Regions from separate parts of the Homo sapiens genome. Here regions 2, 3, 4, 5, 6 and 7 are each linked to region 1. Evidence: promoter capture Hi-C in human tissues and cell types (Jung and others, 2019). All regions are on one chromosome and are shown on one strand. Each heading gives the region's core, a stretch centred on a gene start or on the middle of the fragment in contact. The rest is flanking DNA. Distances are from core to core; before and after follow the strand shown. Region 1 holds the start of FLRT2 (fibronectin leucine rich transmembrane protein 2). Region 2 has its middle 230 kb from the start of SNORD3P3. Region 3 has its middle 140 kb from the start of SNORD3P3. Region 4 overlaps LOC105370604 (a long non-coding RNA gene). Region 5 has its middle 33 kb from the start of SNORD3P3. Region 6 holds the start of SNORD3P3 (small nucleolar RNA, C/D box 3 pseudogene 3). Region 7 has its middle 58 kb from the start of SNORD3P3.

Region 1 (2,959 bases), core at 420-2,919:
AAGGTGGCTGGGAAAGCGCGTTGACTTACATTTACATAGCCCATCTTCTCCCCACAGTATGTGACTAATACGTATCCCGGGGAGGAGGGAGCGCGGCTGGGGGTGCTAATCGGAAGGGAACAGACAGTGAGTGCCATCTTGCTGGGAGGTTCCAGAAGCAAAGCGCCAACGACGACAGTAGCGGTGGCCTCAGCTCCACCAGTAACTGCCGCTGGCAGGAGCACCACACGCTCTAGGAGTTTCCCGGGTATCAAGTATGGGTCCAGCCCGTCCCAGTTATCCTCTTCCCCTATGGCTTCATTCCCGTTGTCAGTACCCCGACCTCAGCTTGCAACCTTGATCTTGGGCTTGATTATAAATGACGAAAGACCGCGGCAGCCTTCAAAGTGCGGGAGCGAGCCCCGTACTGGTCAGCGCGGCGGAGGGATCTTTCCAGGAGGCCCCAAGCCCCCAAGCCTGTGGAGAGACTTGGTAACAGCTGGCAAGGCCTGCTCCAGCCACCCTCGCTGGCTCCTTGCCCCTGCATTCAGCGCCTGAGGGCGTTATTCGCCCTCTCCCTGCGTCCCACGCAAGCGGCTCAAGGAACTCACTCGATCCGGATTCCGCCTCGTATGCTCTCCAAGCCTTCGCCACCTCCGCAGGCGCTCTAGAAAGGCGTGATGGCCCCAGCTCAGTGCCCGCCAGCCCGAAGAGGACAAGCAGGGCTGGAAGGGACTTGGTTTTGGAAAAAGCCCCACCCGCCCCCACCAACTGGAAGGAAAAGGAATTAGTATCCACCGCATCTGTTTAACTGCTAATAGATCCCAGATTACGGGCAGGTAGTAGGTTGGTGTCTTTAGATACAACAGCCTGATAATAACGCTGGTGACATTAACAACAGCTTGTGGAGGGGAGAGGGTTGTTACTGGTGAAAGTTAAGAGATTCAATCTAGGGAAGTAGGAGACTGAACTCTGACAAGGTTAGGGGCACTGAGAACCCCAATTTAGCATCGATGCATCTACCAGGCAAGAAAATTTGCGTTTTGACCCAGAACTCAGTCATGATGCTCCGTAGAGGAGGTGGATTCGACCAGCAGACAGATGTCCCCAAAGTCGAGAGAGAGCTAAGCTGCCTATTTTCTCTCCAGGTGAAAGACAAAGCCTAGAGCACCCCACTTAAGATGACCACCCCCAGCTCTTTCAAAAAAAAAAAATCCCCCGAAGAGACAGCGTGGTGCCAGCGTAGCAGCAGCTCGGCCGGTTACTGGAAACTTCACCTGGCAACGCAGCCCCTTTTACCTGACGGCTGCGTCTTCTCCTTGCAATGGGCTCATCCGAATCCGACAGGGTCAGGGAGGTGGAAAGGGAAGACGCTGGCGCGGCAGCAGCGGGGATCCCGGGGCATGGTATTGTTTTAGGGGTCGCCGCCGAGGTCCCTCCTGCCCATCGTTGAGAACTGCCACCCTGATCCCAGGGCTCGGTGGACACGGCGGCGGGAGCGGAGATGCCGCCTCGCCGCTGCTGGGCACCAGGGACGGAGGACCAGAGGCGCACCTCGGAAAGGAGTAGCTCAGCGCCTTGGCGCGGAGATTTGCGGGCACTGATGATATCTCGAGCGCTCGTTCCTCCGCGGTGACAATGGATAATGCCAAACGCGCAAGTGACGGCGACAGGTTTCGAACGTACAACTAACTACAAGGTACCCAGCCTGAGACAGTATGCTGCTTTTCCCCTCCTCCTCCTCTCCCTCCTACCAGGGAGGGAACTAACTTAACCCTGTGTGCGCCTGACACTCCCTAGAGAAGCTGGGATCGACTAGGAAACCGCAGGCAGCGGCTCCCGGGGGCGAGAGCTTTGTTCACGTGCGTTTCCAGTGGGTGTGTTGCTGTCTAGGGGCACTCGCGTGGCAAGACGCCCGTGGCTGGCTTCCAGCGCCCAAGATTCAAGGAAGGGAAGGAGCCCTAGCGTTTCATCCGGACCAGACCCAGCCCTCGGAGTCTATTTTTTGCCTCCAGTTACCGGATTTATTGAAGTTGCCAGCGAAGTTGGTTTTATTCCTTTACTTCTCTGCTCTCCGCCCCCGTCCACATCCCCCAACCCTGTATTATTTCCTGTCCTAGCTGCGCTTTAAAGATTCGGAACTTTTCACTCGTTCTAGCTACAGATTTTAACTGTGTTCCGTGTGCGAGACGAATTGTGGAGGGCACCCACCCACCCATGCCAAGTGTAAATGAAACCGCAAGAAAAGCTGCCTCCCACTCACCCATCCAGTGTCCGAGTAAGCCTAATGACACACATTCACATAACTAAGAAGACACGGGAAGATAGGGGTGCGGAGGACGGAGTTTGATGTGTGAATGGGAAATGGAGAGAGGGGACAGCGCGCGCGAGAGAAACAGCGCGAGCCTGAGCCTTAGAATGGAATAAACGGGAAACACACACAAGAATGACGATGCAAAAAATGTATCTAAGTCCCAACATTGACAGCAGAGGGTCAGCTTTAAGCGCCTACATTTTGATCCGCGAAATTTCCCAGCTTTTTTGGAGGCGGTTACATAGAGAACACAGGAGCCTCTGCCTTGGCCGCCCAGATGCTTTGCATTTTGTAAACAGCTTTGACTAAGTGCTCTGGACTTCCAAGAAGTTAACTGGAGTGGAAGGCGAGTCATATTGTGGATGCGGAATGGAAGCTTAGACAAGAAAAAACTGTCAGCAGAGCGCCTCTGCTCTCACCGTCACACCCAAATGAGCCAGGACGTCGCTCAGAGCGCAAACTGAGATCCACACAGGGACATCTTCAACCGAATCTTTCTTCTGTCTCCATTCCGGACTAAGGAAAGAAAGAAAGAAATACGGAGCCTTTATAGAGTATTCAGAGGCTACACACATGGATCTTGCTGAAACGGAGTTATTTAAAAACAGAGAAAGTGTGTTTTCCCATGAGATAGATGTTATAGTTTCTCTCTGAAACATACCCAAG
Region 2 (2,854 bases), core at 202-2,701, 490 kb after region 1:
ATGGCCTTTTTTCTTTTTAATTCAATCTGTTAAGAAGGGAAATTAATTCTTTTTTAACATAAGCCAATTTGGGTTGTGGTTTCTATTATTCATGACCAAAATAACCCTAAGTGTTGCACAAAACCTACATCTGCAGAAACCAAATTTCACACCCTTGCTTTGTTTAGAGAAAACCTTTAGACTGAGTAAGAGATATCTGCAACCATTACGGGTAACTTTAGTTAGGAAATTCCCAAATGTTTTTGAAACCTAGATGCAGAAAGAAGAACCACATGCACGTGAAAGTGTTTTTGGGCCCAGCGTGGTGGCTCATGCTTGGAATCCCAGCACTTTGGGAGGTCGAGGCCGGTGGATCACCTGAGGTCAGGAGTTCGAGACCAGCCTGGCCAACATAGTGAAACCCCGTCTCTACTAAAAATACAAAAAATTAGCCGGGCGTGGTTGTGGGTGCCTGTAATCCCAGCTACTCAGGAGGCTGAGGCAAGAGAATCACTTGAACCTGGGAGGCAGAGGTTGCAGTGAGTCGAGATTGTACCACCGCATTCCAGCCTGGTGACAGAGCAAGACTCTCTAAAAAAAATAGGGTTTCTCGATTCTAGGTTAAAGAAGTACTTTGGATTCATGTATCAGATTGTGTGGAACATCAAATTGGAGGGGGAGATATTTTCTTTGCTGCTTCTCATAGCCAGCACTAGTCTCACTCCAGGAGTCTGAGCTTTGTGAGCAATGAGACTCAGTGCCTTTGGCACAGACACTGGCTTACTATGTGGCTTCATATGCCAGGGCAAAGGTGAGACTCTTACAAGTGACTTTGAGTGCAGGTGCCATCAGTGCAAGGAGGTGGGTGGGGGACGCTGGCAGTTGAATGTAAATTACATTAAAACTTTGACATGGGAGAGTGGTAGACATATTTGTTTGTGAGCATTAATTTTTTTTTTTTTGGTGAGTTTTTTATGCGGGGTTGTCAAGAACTCTGAAGGACCTGAGATGTTACCTTGCTTGCAAGCTAAGAAGTTAGTACAGCACAACTTTTTGAATGCTTGTCATTAAAAAAGTCATTAGACTGCAGGGTAAAAGACAAAGGAGTTTATCACTAAGAGCAAAACAATCATGAGCACCAATTCACCTTGCTCCCGAATCCCATAAGGACAATGTAGAGGAGTCTACAGAGACACCACCCACACAATGGGTTAGCATCATACATGAGTAATTCTGACCTTAGGGGACCCAAGTATTTTATATAGAGCAGTAAAAACAACTGCCTTCTGCCCTGGAGGTACATAGTACTTCTATCATGTAAGGCTGTTTGGTACCCAAACATTCCTGACATTTTAGTCTAAAGCAAAAAGGGAGTTAGTGTCTTTGATGGTTAATTTCAACTGCCAACTTGACTGGATTAAAAGATACCTGATAACTGGTAAAGCGTTGTTCCTGGGTGTGTCTGTGAGGGCATTTCTGGAAGATATTGGCCTATGAGTTGGTGGACTTAGTATGAAAGATCAGCCCTCAATGTTGGGGGGCACGATCCAATCAGCGGGGGCCCTGGAGAGAATAAAAAGCAGAGGAAAGGCAAATTTGCTCTTTCTTCTGAAGCTGGTTCACCCTTCTTCTCCTGCCCATGGACATTAGGACTCCAGATTCTCTAGTCTTTGGACTACGGGACTTGCACCAGCAATTGCCCAGAGGTCTTGGGCCTTTGGCCTCAGACTGAGAGTTACACCATTGGCTTCCTTGGTTGTGAGGCTTTTGGAGTTGGACTGAACCATGTCACTGGATTCCCTGGGTCCCCAGCTTACAGACAGCTTTTGATGGGACTCTTTAACCTCCATAATCACACGAGCCAATTCCTCTAATAAATCTCCTTTATCCCCTATCTATCTATCTATCTATCTATCTATCCATCCATTCATCCTATTGGTTCTGTGTCTTTGAAGAATCTTGACTAATACAGTGTCTCTGCCTGACATATATGTAGAATTTCATGGAGAGACTCACAGAGCACTGTCTCCCAGAAGGACATCAGAGTATTGTTTGGGAATCCCACATTGAGTTGGTGGATATTAAATTCTTACAGTATGCACATTAATAAATAACATGCTCATTATAACTCAAAGTATAAAATAAATATTTATGAGTCCATACTGATATAAATGAATGAGTAAATTTATACATGGAGGAAAGGAAACAAATCTCCCATATAGAAGAATTCCAAATAATTTATGTAAATACTCTGCCTTCAAAGAGGGGGAGATTAATTCTGTTCTCTGTAAGTGTGGGCTAAACACAGTGACTTCCTTCCAAAGCATATAAAAATTAGGGTGGGGTAGGAGAAGAAGAGAAAATTTACAGTGGAGAAAAAGGACAAACCCTACATACTTCAGGTGATAAAGCCCAACAACAGTCATATCATGTTGATAGTATGTATTCTGAATATGATATGATGGCAATAGCACTTTACCTCTGAGATCTTTCTCCAGATAACCCATAACCTCAGCCTTATCATGAGAAAAACATGAGAAAAATTCCAGTGTGGAGTATTGTACAAAATACTTGCTACTACTCCTCAAAATACTCAAAGCCCTTAATGTGGTTTGGCTCTGTGTCCTCAACCAAATCTCATGTCAAATTGTAATTCCCATGTGTCAGAGGAGGGGCCTGGTGGGAGGTGATTGAATCACGGGGCGGACATCCCCCCTTGCTGTTCTCTTGATAGTGAGTGAGTTCTCATGAGAACTGGTTGTTTGAAAAGTGTGTAGCATATCCCCCTTCACTCTCTCTCTCTCCTGCTGTCAGGAGAAGGTTCTTGCTTCCCCTTCGCCCTTCTACCACGATAGTAAGTTTCCTGAGGCCTCCC
Region 3 (2,727 bases), core at 65-2,564, 400 kb after region 1:
CAAGATTGCTTTGACTATTTTGGTGCTTTTGTGGTCTCACACAAATTTTTTGTTTTCGTTTTCTATTTCTGTGGAAAATGCCATTGGACTTTATATTTATAGAGATTGTACTGACTGTGTAGATTACTTTGGTTAGTATGGCTATTTTAACAATATTAATCCTTTTAATTCATTATTGTAGGATATCTTTTAATATATTTATATTTTCAACTTCTTTAGTCAATGTTTTATAATTTTCAGTGAACAGATCTTAAATCTCATTGGTTAAATTTATTCCTAAGTATTTTATTCTTCTGGATGCATTATCAATGGAATTGCTTTCTTCATTTTTTTTTAGATACTTTGTTGTTAGTGTATAGAAAGGCAGCTGATTCTTCTGTGTTGATTTTGTATCTTACAACTTCCCTGAATTCATTTTTTAGTTCTAACGAGTTTTGTTCATGTGGAGTTTTTAGGGTTTTCTATATATAAGATGATGCCACCTGCAAACAGATATAATTTTACTTATTTTTTATTTTAATTTTGATGTTTTAATTTAAAAATTTTTTTTCCTGACTAATTGACCTGACTAGGTCTTTCAGTACTATGTTGAATAGAAGTGGCAAGAATCGACATTCTTATCTTCTTCTTCTTCGTTTTTTTTTTTGTTGTTGTTGTTAGATGAAGTCTCCCTCTATCACCCTGGCTGGAGTGCAATGACAAAACCTCGGCTCACTGCAACCTCTGCCTCCTGGATTCAAGAGATTTTCCTGCCTCAGCCTCTCAAATAGCTGGAATTACAGGCACCTGCCACCTTGCCCGGCTAATTTTTTGTACTTTTAGTAGAGACTGGGTTTCTCTATGTTGGCCAGGCTGGTCTCAAACTCCTGACCTCAGGTGATCTGCCTGCCTCGGCCTCCGAAAGTGCTGGGTTTACAGGGGTGACCCACTGTGTCTGGCCTTATTCCTCATGTTAGAGGAAGAGCTTTCAGCTTTTTACCATTGAGTAAGATGTTAGCTGTAGGCCTTTGATATATGGTTTTTACTATATTGAGGTACATTTTCTCTATAAATACTTTGGTGAAAATTTTCATTAAGAACGTATGTTGACTTTTCCCACCTATTGGGATGATTATATAATTTTTATCCTTCATTCTGTTAATGGGGTACATCATAATGATTAATTTATGTATGTTGAACCATCCTTGAATTACAGGGATATGTCTCATTGATTATGTTGTGAGATCCTTTTATTGTGCTATTGAGTTCAGTTTGCTAGAACAGTTGGCCATCCATATCCATGGGTTCATCATCCATGGATTCAACCAACCACAGATGAAGAAAATTGGAAAAAAATTGCATTTGTACTAAACATGTTCAGACTTTCATTTCTTGTCATTATTACCTAAACAATATAGTATAACAACTACTTACATGACATTTACATTGTATTAGATATTATAAACAAGCTTCAGAGGACAAAACATACAGGCAGGTATATATATGCTTATATGCAAATGCTATGCAATTTTATATCAGGGACTTTAGCATCTGTGGATTATGATATTTGTGGAAGATCCTGGGAACAGTACCCTATGGATATAGATGAATGGCTGCATTTTGTTGAGGATTTTTGCATCTATGTTCATCAGGGACATTGGCCTGCAATGTTCTTTTCTTATGGTGTCCTGGCCTGGCTTGTTATTAGGATAATGCTGGCTTCATGAAATTAGTTTGGAAGTATCCCGTCATCTTCAATTTTTTGGAATAGATTAAGAAGAATTGACATTTATTCTTTTTAAAATGGTAGAACTCACCAGTGAAGCCATCTGACCTTGAGCTTTTCTTTGTTGGGAAATTTTTGGTGATTGATTAAATCTCCTTATTCATTATTAATTTGTTCATGTATTTTATTATTTCATGGTTCAGTCTTGGTAGCTTGTAGTTTCTAGGACTGCATCCATTTCTTCTAGGTTATCCACGTTTGTGGCATACGATTGTTATAGTAGTTTCTGATGGTCCTTTGATCTACGTGGTGTCACTTGTAATGTCCCCCTCTTTCATTTACAATTTTATTCATTTGAGTCTTCACTCATTTTTTTCTTAATTAGTCTAACTAAGGTATTATTAATTTTATCTTTACAAAAAACAATTCTCAGTTTTTTGGATCTTGTCTGTTTTTTTTTAAGTTTTTATTTCATTTATTTCTGTTTTAATTTTTATTATTTTTTTCTTCTAGTAACTTTGGGCTTACTTTGCCCTATTTCTCATTCTTTGTGATGTAATGTTAGGTTGTTTATTTGAGATCTTTCTTCTTTTTTAATGTACGCTTTTATTGCTTTAAACTTTCCTCTTAAAACTGCTTTTGCTATATATTCCAAAAGTTTTGGTATGATGTGTTTCCATTTTCATTTGTTTCAAAATTTTAAAAAACTATTTTTAAAATTTTTTCATTGACCCATAGGTTGTTTAGGACTATTTTATTTAATTTTCATATATTTGTAAATTATCTAAAATTCCTTCTGTTATTTATTTCTACATTGATATTATTTTTGGAGGAAAAATACTTGATATAATTTTAATCTTAAATTTGTTAAGGCTTGTTTTGTGCCCTAACACATGATCTATTCTATAGGATGTTTTGCACACACTAGAAAATAATGTGTATTCTATTGAGATTGTATGGAATGTTTCATATTTGTCCATTAGATCCATTTGGTCTAAAGTGTCCAAGTCCAATGTTTTCTT
Region 4 (2,819 bases), core at 211-2,710, 350 kb after region 1:
TTAAATCTCCATCTTTCATAGAAGACCACAAATTCTACCTCCCATATTACCCAGTGATTTGGGGCAATAGGCAGACATGCAGGAGTACTTGAAGCAGATTAATACTGAAAGAGCTTCTAACACATCAAACAATCCTTCAAATGTCTCTTAGACAAGATTTTTCACATGAAATGCCTGTACTTAGCTCAAGAAGGAAGGATTTTATCACAACTGGAATGCCTGACAGATTGCAATAGTATGCCTTCGACTATGGAATAAATTGTGTTCTATCCAAATGTTTATATTGAACCCTAAACCCTAAATATGGCTATATTTAGAGACAGGATCCATAAGGAGGTAATTAAGGTGAAATGAGGTCAACAGGGTGGGGCCTGCTTCAATTAGATTAGCCACCTTAAAGAAGAGACACCAGAGAGCTCCTTTGCTTTCTTTCCATGCATATGGGAAGGTCATGTGGGGACAAAGTGATCAGGGGATTGTCTGCAAGCCAGAAAGAAAGCTCTGGCCAGGAACCAACCTTGCTGGACCTCTTTCGAGGACTTGTGGCCTCCAGAACTATAAGTAAGTAAAATTCTGTTGTTTAAGGCACCCAGTTGTATCTTATTGTGGCAGCCCGAGCAGACTAATACATGTTTCCACTGAGCATTATTCAAGGATAATTACATTAATAATTAATATTTTAATGTCAAGAAAGACACTCATATCTCAGACTCACAAAAATAAGCATTCAGTATGGCCTCTGGACAGCATGGGGACTACCGCCCTTTTCTTTTTAGAAAAGGTAAACAACCATGTAAATCCCATCCCTTCAATGATTTATTTGCATGAGGATGAAATCTAGGGCCCTCGTAAAGAGTACAAATATAAATGTGCATAGTGTGTTTACCCATTAAATATATTAGTGCCCATTATTTATTCATTTTAATTATTCTCTGGGGTCTGCCATGTGCCCAGCACATCTGTGAGTGCTGGGGAAACAGTGGTGTGCAGGCCAGCAAAATCCCCAGTCAGTGAGGAGCCTGCATAACAGATAATAAACAAGTAAACATGCCATTGATATAATTTTCAGAGAGTAAAGAGCATAGAAAAAGCAAAACCACAAGATGAGATGATGAATGGCAGCTATTTGAGATTTCTGTCAAGAAGGCAGAGCCTACCCTCATGCAGCTTAAAATGAAATGATGGTAACACTTTAAGCAAGGAAGTGAATGTATTAAGATTATGTGCACAGGTGGCTATTGGAACACAAAGAAAAAATGTCTTATACAATTTTGGGAGGCCAGAGAAGTCTTTACCAGGGACAGTAAGAGTAATGGAGAAGAATGGCTAAATAATTCAGCATGGAAAGAGAGAGATGTGGGTTGGAACTTGGCTCTCCTGTGTGATGCTTGCTAGTGACTTATTCTCTCTGATTCTTTTCTGTCTTGTAAAATAGGGCTTGTAATACCCTCTCACAGGAAGGGGAGAAGGTTGGTGTTCAATACCCAGAATGAGAAATAGCCTGAAATAGTCCTAGAAATAGAAGTGGTTCACAGAGAATGAGGCCATAAATGAAAAACATTAAGGCAGAGGTCATATCATAAAGGTCCATGCTAAGGAACCAGAAGTATAGTTTGAGGCAAGGGATATATCCCTTGGCCATTTAAGGGCTTCAAGATGATTAAAGTTTTAATTTATAAATTCACAGAAGATTTTTAACGTTCATTTCATTTTATCTATATTTTCTAAATTTCTGACACTGAATAGTACTTATATAAATTTTGAATTCTTAAAGCAGTTAGAAAAAAATAACCCTATTGAATTAGTCAAAAAATGCAAAGGACCACAAATTGGCGATATTCCTGCATAAACATATGATATCAGTTTAACAACCTCCAAATAAGTGCATTGGCCTGTGGGCTTTGGTATCTGAGGTCTTTATGACATAAAAATTGATAATCCAGGGAGATGAGCATCTGTTCTGTAATCTTTGGCATTATCCTCATGCACATATTTTCTTGGTAAGAGGATTGAGCAACAGAAACTTAGACATCCTGGAAATTCTGCTACATCATCCAATATGGAAGTTTTCCTGGACTGAATGGTCTGTTTACAGAAGATATACTAATGCTGATCATAATCAACTGTCATAGCCCAGCAATTCCATCCCTAAGTATATGCCTATAGAAATTTCCATAGATGGTCAACCAAAAAAAAAAAAAAGTATGAGCAGCACAAATTGCAAACTCCCCAAATGCTCATTAATAGTAAAATGAGATAAGTATATTTTGGTATATTTCCCCAAAATGAAATAGGGTACAGAACTAATAATAAAATGACTGCAACAACTCACAAGTATACTGTTGAGTGAAAAAGATCAAACAAAAAAATGTAGATACTGTAAGGTAGGGGTGTGTGTGGGGGGTGGGGTGTGTGTGTGTGTGTGTATGTGTGTGTTTATGCATTTACGCTGAGGGGGTGTAATAGATAATTTCATGTGTCAACTTGACTGGGACATGGGGTGCCCATATAAATGGCCCAACATTATATGGGGTATTTCTATAAGGGTGGTTATGGATGAGATTAACATTTAAATCAGTAAGCTGAGTAAAGCAGATTGCCCACCCTGAAGTGGGTGAGCCTCATCCAATCAGTTGAAAGCCTAAATTAAACAAACAAACAAACAAACAAAAAGTCTGACCCTCCTCTGAGAAATAGTGAATTGCTCCTGCCTGACTTCATTTGAACTGGGACACCAGCTTTGTCCTACTTTGGGAATTGAAGTGAAACATCAGTTAGTCCTGGATCTGGAGCCTGCTGGCCTTTGGCCTGCAACCACA
Region 5 (2,719 bases), core at 162-2,661, 290 kb after region 1:
ATAATTAAGTATACTTCAAAGAAATAGTACTTGTTTGGAGAAATCAACTGCATCTGTTAAAAGAGAAGACTACAACTCCAATCTGGCAGTGTTTGCTCATTTGTTTGCTTGTTTTAAATAAAAACGAGGCTTAATTCAGAAGAAATCTTTGCTCAGAAATGGGACACTAAGTCATTCTTGTTTTCTAACTAAATTGATGGTGCACTGTTGTTGACTCTGGGGTTAAAGACTTCAGTAAGAAGCCTGCTTGGCCTTTTCTCCATACATCTGGTGACCTTAGAAAGTGATGACTTTATAGGATGTGACCACATGGCTCATACCACTGTGAGGTAAATGCAAAGCTCCCAGAAATCCCAGTGGGGGAGCAGAAAGAGTTATTATTCAGAAAGAGTTACTGGGTCACCACTGAACATGGTCCATAATATTTCTCCTCAAACTCAAATGAAAATTCAACTTGTTTTATGTAAGTTATAGAATATGTTCTAGCACCTATATGATTATTTCTCTCTCTCTCTCTCTCTCTCCGTGTGTGTGTGTGTGTGTGTGTGTGTGTGTGTGTGTAGTTTTATGGAAGAATGGAGACTTCATGTAATTTGAACACAAGAACCTCATTATGTTCTGTTTTGCATAACTTACCCTGTCTCCTCAGTAGGTCAGGAATGAAGTTAAGAAAAGAAGCAGGATTTCATGTCATGCATGTAGAATTCCAAGCTCAGTAACTGCTGTCTTTCTGTTTCTTCTGGGAATTCTTATCAATCTGATGGGCTTGTTTATAGTGCTAAATCAGAGTCTTAAAAGCCTCTATATGCTTTACTGAAACATGGAGTGCTTCTGAACTTTAAAATCAATTGCATCGATTCAATTCTAGAACATAAGTGAAGACTAATGGTTTTTATGTTCATTAACTTCTAATTTACATAAGATAGAAGATGTTAATATGGTCCCAGAGTCTTTGTGGGAAACCATTTTAGTCAAGCTAGAGAAAATGGGACTTCCACTTTCATTTGCAATGGATCAATATTCCCAAAATTAAAATATATAATCTTCAGATCAAATTCCACACTTCTTTTACCTTTTCTGTTACCAAAGAACATTTGTGAACTCTTGGTTGAGTCAATGTAGACTCTATCAGCTGCTCAGTTGCTTTTATAAATGGTTTTTCTCTTACGTTTTTCCAGAAGTTAAAATAAATTGACAAGTATTTGGAATGTTCTGAAATGTAGAAAAGTCTAACAGTCAAAATCAGAACTTAAGATAAAGGCAAAACTTGAAATATTTCCAATATGAATTACATTTAACTGAATTCTAAATATTTTAGAGGTTTTTCCCCTTGCAAATTAACAGTTGCTTTGTTTCTGACTTTTTAAAAAATTTTTGTTGGATACCAGAAATAATATTAGTGCAATGTGTAATTAGAAATAATACTAGTTGGGGCACATCTAAACCTAAACACAGATTGATATGGGAGTTAGAAGAATCTTAAATCATTTCTTAATCAAGTCCTGGATGTGATTTTCTTCTAGCCTTTGAATATTCTGCTTGTTTTCTTTGGAAAACAAGATAGGAATTACTTTCATTCTCCAAGTTAGCCTTCATTTGGAAAGTGCTGGATGTTTTCCTTGGGGTCATATTCCTTTTGTTTTTTTCATTCAACATTTCCATTTTTTTTATTGTTGAGGGGACAGGGTAGTGTTTGATCTGAGCAATATTTTATTTGTTCATGAAATAGTTTTAAACATACTTAGAATGGTTTCTAACTAATTTGGACTCCAAGTGAAACTCTACCACAGTTTTTGTGACTTTGGCCTATCTAATCGTTCCAAGATTCAATTTTCATACTTATAAAATGGGAACAATATTTCTACATCTTATTTTGGTTTGGAGAGGGTTATGTAAGATATTACTTGTAAATCAGCTGGTTCAATGACTGATATACATATATGTATATATACACACACACATATGTATATCTCCACAAACACACATGCGTATGTATGTATATATGTATGTATATATGTATGTATGTGTATATATGTATATATAGACATATATATGTGTGTGTATATATACACAGAGAGAGAGAGAGAGAGAGAGAAGGTGCTCAATAAATAATGGGATCTCATATCTTGGTCTGCTTATATTTTTGTCCTGAAGTCTACTTTTCTTGCCCCAAGTATTTTTCCTTACATGGGAATACAAGTGCATTCATGCTTTTATTTTCTATTTTGGTTGAACTCTGTGTATTCTCTGTAATTGCTTAGGGTCAGGTATGGCTGTATAAGACTGGGTACTCTACAATGGAACGACAACATGTAATGAAACCCAAATTAGGGTGTTAGAAATGACCCTATCTATAAAGAGGACACTGGGAGTGGAATACACATTTTCTAAAATGCTTCAGTTAAAAACAAAAGCAACAATACAAACAGAACAAAACAAATTCAGTTGCTTTAAGCCCCATTTATTATATTTGACTTTAAAAGTACAGCAGAAATTAAAATTATAAATATCTCATGACAAATAAAGTAACCCAGTTACTTACTTTTCCAAAACCATCTCATCCATTACCATGTTAATATATAGAAAGCTGTATACTTTCATATTTTTGAATGTTTATTTTATTCTTCATTGCCAACTTTCACACAGCTGCTTTGATAGATTATAACCAGGTTGCTTAAAAGCATTTGAGCTCATTACTTACAGTCACAAAGTTTCTACA
Region 6 (2,700 bases), core at 95-2,594, 260 kb after region 1:
TATTCTTCTTAGCATAAAAGTATTCAATGTCTCATTACTTGTGATTAAATCAACTACGTTCAATAAACATTTATTAACATCTACTGTGTTCAAGGCATTTTGCTGAGTGTTACATGCCATAGCCACCAGGTCTTAGTAAAACTTGCAATCGGAATATGGGGTTTTGAGGAATGATAGAATAAGAAAAGTAGAGAAAAATAAGTTTAGAAGATAGGTTTAAGTAATATGCTTTGTGTTTTCAATGTAGTATTGGCTGGGAGAATGGGGAAAAGCATCTCAGTGACATGGGTCTCTTTGGATAATTAGCATTTTAGTGCTCTACACGTTCAGAGAAACTTCTCTAGTAACAAACTATAGAAATGATCCCTGAAAGTATAGTCTTGGATAATTAGCATTTTAATGACTGAGATAGAAAGGTGAAGTAGATGGTATTTGATACGGTTTGGCTGTGTCCCCACCCACATCTCACCTTGAACTGTAATAATCCCCACATGTTAAGGGTAAGGCCAGGTGGAGATAATTGAAGCATAAGGGCAGTTTCCCCCATACTGTTCTCATGGTAGTGAATAAGTCTCAGGAGATCTGACGGTTACATAAATGGGAATTCCCCTGCACAAGCTCTCTCCTGTCTGCCGCCATGTAAGACGTGACTTTGTTCCTTAATCGCTTTCCGTCATGATTGTGAGGCCTCCCCAGCTATGCGGAACTGTGAGTTTATGAAACCTTTTTCCTTTATAAATTACCAAGTCCCAAATGTGTCTTTATTAGCAGCGTGAGAACAGACTGATACAGTATTGCAGTGAAAATATTCACCACTTCTCCATACTGGGCCAGTACATGGAGAGGTATTATACTCCTTACTCCATTAAGGTTAGATTTTGTCAAATAACTGCCTTTCGTTAATAAAATGTTCACCATTTCCAAGAAAAAGCTTTCAGAGTCCCACCATCTCTCTGTTCCTTCTGCCAAGTGACTGTTGTGTTCTAGAGAGGAGTTGCTCTATTAGCTTATTCTGAGAATGGAGGGGCAAGGAAAAAAGCCACAGGCAAACATGATAAGCAGGAAATGTGAGTGGGAAATACACCTCTGTGGTTTTAACCCACTGAGGTTTGGAATCTATTCATTACTAGAGAAAAATGTAGTTTAAACTGACTGATACAGGGACAGGACATTCTGGAAGATGCTACAAACACACACAGAAGGCATAGAGACAGAAAACTAAACAGCATTTGATTTAGAGACAAAGAGAGTAAGGGAATTGTGCATAGAAGTGTAGTTTGTATTCACATTGCAGAGGACCCTATGAGTCTGAATGCTAGAACTAGTAGTAGTTAATAACTAACTTAATAGGCAATAGGTAAATAATAGATGATTAAACTAGAAAAATGGCTTCTTAGAGCTACACTTCAAGAAACATTTCTCTGACAGCTGAATGCAGGAGGTATTGCGAACAGAAATGGGAAGTAGATTTTTGGAAAGACTATTCACTTGGCTATATTTACTAAGCACATCTCCTGTGTGTCAGACGTTGAGAGGGGCATAGGTGGTAGAATGAAGAAGCGATCCTTGCTTTCACAAAAGTTACACTTTAGTAGACAAGACAGCTATTAAATAATAAAACAAGTAAATAATATAATTTCCAACTGTTAAAAGTGCTAGGAAAAAAACAGAATGTTATGAGAGTGAATGATAGAGAAAATTTACTCAGGACCATAAGGACAGCTACTCAATGGCTTCTTAAGCAAATAATATCAGAGGAATGCTTAAAACAGGAGGTGATAATTGGAACCAATGGGAATTGCAAGGTTGCAATGACTGTGAAAGGCATTGTGAGGATAAATTCTGCAGACTGATTTGTTAATTTATTTAGTCCAAAGGATAAAAGAAAAAGAAGATGCCAATATGACTGATTTTTTGGGCCTGGATGACTAGGGACTTAGTAGACCCTTCAGCAGAAATAACTATGTTGGGAAAGAGTTTTTAAGAGGAAAAGAGACTACTGGGTGCCAATTATTATGAACCTAAAATACAAATATGAAGGAAAGATAGGAGTGTCCAATGGACAATGGGCAACGTAGGTTTGGAACTGGAGAGAGAGCCTGTGGCTAGGAATATTGACTTGAAAATTGAAACTTTAGTTAAATATGAAATATCTAAGGTAGACCGAAGCTTGAAGTTGAATATTTGGTAGGCTGGGGAATAAATGTGTTTGAAAAGTTGTTAGAGAGGCTAAAGGTAAAACCTGTATAGTATAAAATAGAGTTCATTTGTGTTAGCCTGTCATTTGAAAGGTCAGGAGGTGCAGCCAAAAGAAGTTGGCTTACTACAATCTGGGCTCTGACTATCTCCATCGTTGTGCTCCTGAACAAGATATCTTATTTCTCAGTCAGTCTTATCATCTATAAAATGGAGATAATAAGTTGCATCTTGGTTGGTGCTGGCTCTGAATGTTCATGTCCCCCTCAAATTTGTATGTTAAAATAACCCCCAAGGTGATGGTATTAGGAGGTGGGGATTTGGGGGAAGGGATTAGGTCATGAGGGTAGAGTCCTTATGAATGGAATTCATGCCCTTACAAAAGAGGCCCCAGAGAGCTACCTGGCCCCTTCCACCATGTGAAGACACAGCAAGAAATTGGCAGTCTGTATCTGGAAGAGGGCCCTCACCAGAACCTGACCATGCTGGCACCCTGATCTTGGA
Region 7 (2,733 bases), core at 127-2,626, 320 kb after region 1:
CTTTATTGATTCATCCAGTGATGGATACTTATGTGGATTCCATATTTTGGTTATTGTGAATCATGCTGCATTAAACATGAGAGCACAGATATGTTGTTCTCCACATATTGATATATTTTATTTGGTTATATAACCAGTAGTGGAATTACTGAATCATATGATAGTTCTATTTTGAGTGTTTTGAGGAACCTCCATTTATTTTATTTATTTATTTATTCATTTATTTTTAGACAGAGTCTCACTGCCAGGTTGGAGTGCAGTGGTGCAATCTTGGCTCACTGCAATCTCCGCCTTCTGGGTTCAAGCGATTCCCCTGCCTCAAGCCTCCCGAGTAGCTGGGACTACAGGCATGCACCATCACACCTGGCTAATTTTTTGTATTTCAGTAGAGACGGGGTTTCACCATGTTGGCCAGGATTGTCTCAATCTCCTAATCTCGTGATCAGCCCACCTTGGCAATTTACATTTCCACCAATAGTGTAGGAGAGCTCTTTTTTTCCCACAGCCTCACCAGCATCTGTTAGTTCCTGACTTTTTAATAAGAGTCATTCTGAGGTAAGATAATATCTCATTGTGGTTTTGACTTGCGTTTCTCTGATTATTAGTCATGTTTAACATTTTTCATATACCTATTAACCATTTGTGTGTCTTCTTCTGAGAAATGTCTATTCAAATCTTTTGCTCATTTTTTAATCAAAAAAAATTTTTCTTTGCTATTTCGTGGTTTGAGCTCCTTATATTTTCTGGTTATTATATCTTTGTCAGATAGATAGCTTGAAAATTGTTTTCTCCCATTCTGTAGATTGTCTCTTCACTTTGTTGATTGTTGCCTTTGCTGTGCAGAAGATTTTTAACTTGATGTAATCCCATTCAAATAATTAATTGTTTTTACAATTACACAACAAGTGTACTGTTTTAATAAGCCATAAAGATCTTGGAAATACTTTAATAGCAATAAGGCAATTGTAACCATATGTGATTTGAAATAAAGAATATTAATAATAATAATATTTGTAACATTGACCTATGTCTCATTTGCCAGATGTTGGTAAGATTTCATCCCTAGGTCTTTGTATCTCCTTGGCCTTTGAAAATACCCATGTTTCTTCCAGATTTCAATGGTCATATTGACAAATTATAGAATATTTATGTCTATGTATTATAGTTTTATACAATAAATATAATGACATTATGTAACAGATACTATACAGAACACACTTGAAGATGCATGATAAGAAGTTTATGAGCATTCTCCATGGGTTGTCAACTTGTACAGACACCTTGCCCTGACATTCTCATTCTCATTCATCATCTCTTCCTGTAATCACAAATCTCAGCAAATACCAGGAAGCTTATTTCAGTTACCATCTTAATGTTCATCAAGAAGGGTGATAAGTCAAGAAGAGTCATGAATATACATAACTTTTATATTACATATAAGGTCTTGGACTTTTATATTATCTGAATTTCTCAAATCACGAAAACTTTCTCATTCATTGGCACCATTTCATTTATATTATCCTTGCCCTCACTCAACAGTATTGCAACATCTTGTAGGGATAAAGTGAACAGCACATATTGTTGGCTAGTTGTTTCTATTTCAATTCAAGTTAAATTTACTGAAGTGAGCTTACATTTATTTGGAGAAAAAAACAATTTTCCAAAACCATATCACAATATCACATTATCCTCCTACCTACAATTTTGGGCTAGGATGTTCTTCAGTAACAAATAAATTCTTACATCTCAGTGACTTAACCAGCAAGATACAGATCTATTTATCACTAATGTTACAGTCCAATGTAGGTTAGATAGCTCTCCTCTGCAGCTCTACTGCTCCACATAGTGACTCAGGGACCCAGGTTGTTTTCATTTTGCAATTCTACCTTTAAAATCTTTTGCTTTGGATACAAAATCAATGTACAAAAATCACAAGCATCCTTATACAACAATAACAGACAAACAGAGAGCCAAATCATGAGTGAACTACCATTCACAATTGCTTCAAAGAGAATAAAATACCTAGGAATCCAACTTACAAGGGATGTGAAGGACCTCTTCAAGGAGAACTACAAACCACTGCTCAATGAAATGAAAGAGGATACAAACAAATGGAAGAACATTCCATGCTCATGGGTAGGAAGAATCAATATTGTGAAAATGGCCATACTGCCCAAGGTAATTTATAGATTCAATGCCATCCCCATCAAGCTACCAATGACTTTCTTCACAGAATTGGAAAAAACTACTTTAAAGTTCACATGGAACCAAAAAAGAGCCTGCATCACCAAGTCAATCCTAAGCCAAAAGAACAAACCTGGAGGCATCACACTACCTGACTTCAAACTATATTACAAGGCTACAGTAACCAAAACAGCATGGTACTGGTACCAAAACAGAGATATAGATCAATGGAACAGAACAGAGCCCTCAGAAATAATGCCGCATATCTACAACCATCTGATCTTTGACAAACCTGGGAAAAACAAGCAATGGGGAAAGGATTCCCTATTTAATAAATGGTGCTGGGAAAACTGGCTAGCCATATGTAGAAAGCTGAAACTGGATCTCTTCCTTACACCTTATACAAAAATTAAGTCAAGATGGATTAAAGACTTACATGTTAGACCTAAAATCATAAAAACCCTAGAAGAAAACCTAGGCAATATCATTCAGGACATAGGCATGGGCAAGGACTTCATGTCTAAAACACCAAAAGCAATGGCAACAAAA

Evidence for each region. Contacts are between HindIII fragments. The study calls those that stand out against the background at their distance.
Region 2: a contact is called between a fragment that was not itself captured here and the fragment with the promoter of FLRT2 in region 1, in 1 of the 25 tissues and cell types used here (IMR-90 fibroblasts).
Region 3: a contact is called between a fragment that was not itself captured here and the fragment with the promoter of FLRT2 in region 1, in 1 of the 25 tissues and cell types used here (lymphoblastoid cells).
Region 4: a contact is called between a fragment that was not itself captured here and the fragment with the promoter of FLRT2 in region 1, in 2 of the 25 tissues and cell types used here (hippocampus and mesenchymal stem cells).
Region 5: a contact is called between a fragment that was not itself captured here and the fragment with the promoter of FLRT2 in region 1, in 1 of the 25 tissues and cell types used here (H1 embryonic stem cells).
Region 6: a contact is called between a fragment that was not itself captured here and the fragment with the promoter of FLRT2 in region 1, in 1 of the 25 tissues and cell types used here (mesenchymal stem cells).
Region 7: a fragment that was not itself captured here is called in contact with the fragment with the promoter of FLRT2 in region 1 in 2 of the 25 tissues and cell types used here (H1 embryonic stem cells and mesenchymal stem cells).

Annotation. Positions count from the first base shown.
Region 1 is chr14:85,528,854-85,531,812 of GRCh38, reverse strand. It overlaps FLRT2 (fibronectin leucine rich transmembrane protein 2), which reads right to left and starts at 1,669. Exons shown (of 2, transcript NM_013231.6): 1 at 1,279-1,669. FLRT2-AS1 (FLRT2 antisense RNA 1) reads left to right here and starts at 154. Exons shown (of 2, transcript NR_184170.1): 1 at 154-2,959. The HindIII fragment of the contact is 3,489 bases long and covers 1-2,959 here.
Region 2 is chr14:85,036,023-85,038,876 of GRCh38, reverse strand. No RefSeq gene overlaps it. Among named protein-coding and RNA genes, the nearest start is that of SNORD3P3, 230 kb to the left of the region's middle. The HindIII fragment of the contact is 6,540 bases long and covers 1-2,854 here.
Region 3 is chr14:85,132,797-85,135,523 of GRCh38, reverse strand. No RefSeq gene overlaps it. Among named protein-coding and RNA genes, the nearest start is that of SNORD3P3, 140 kb to the left of the region's middle. The HindIII fragment of the contact is 3,623 bases long and covers 1-2,727 here.
Region 4 is chr14:85,174,922-85,177,740 of GRCh38, reverse strand. All of the region lies in intron 3 of LOC105370604 (a long non-coding RNA gene), which reads left to right. Among named protein-coding and RNA genes, the nearest start is that of SNORD3P3, 96 kb to the left of the region's middle. The HindIII fragment of the contact is 8,149 bases long and covers 1-2,819 here.
Region 5 is chr14:85,237,148-85,239,866 of GRCh38, reverse strand. No RefSeq gene overlaps it. Among named protein-coding and RNA genes, the nearest start is that of SNORD3P3, 33 kb to the left of the region's middle. The HindIII fragment of the contact is 6,552 bases long and covers 1-2,719 here.
Region 6 is chr14:85,269,614-85,272,313 of GRCh38, reverse strand. SNORD3P3 (small nucleolar RNA, C/D box 3 pseudogene 3) reads right to left here and starts at 382; the gene lies at 253-382. The HindIII fragment of the contact is 3,942 bases long and covers 1-2,700 here.
Region 7 is chr14:85,212,469-85,215,201 of GRCh38, reverse strand. No RefSeq gene overlaps it. Among named protein-coding and RNA genes, the nearest start is that of SNORD3P3, 58 kb to the left of the region's middle. The HindIII fragment of the contact is 4,104 bases long and covers 1-2,733 here.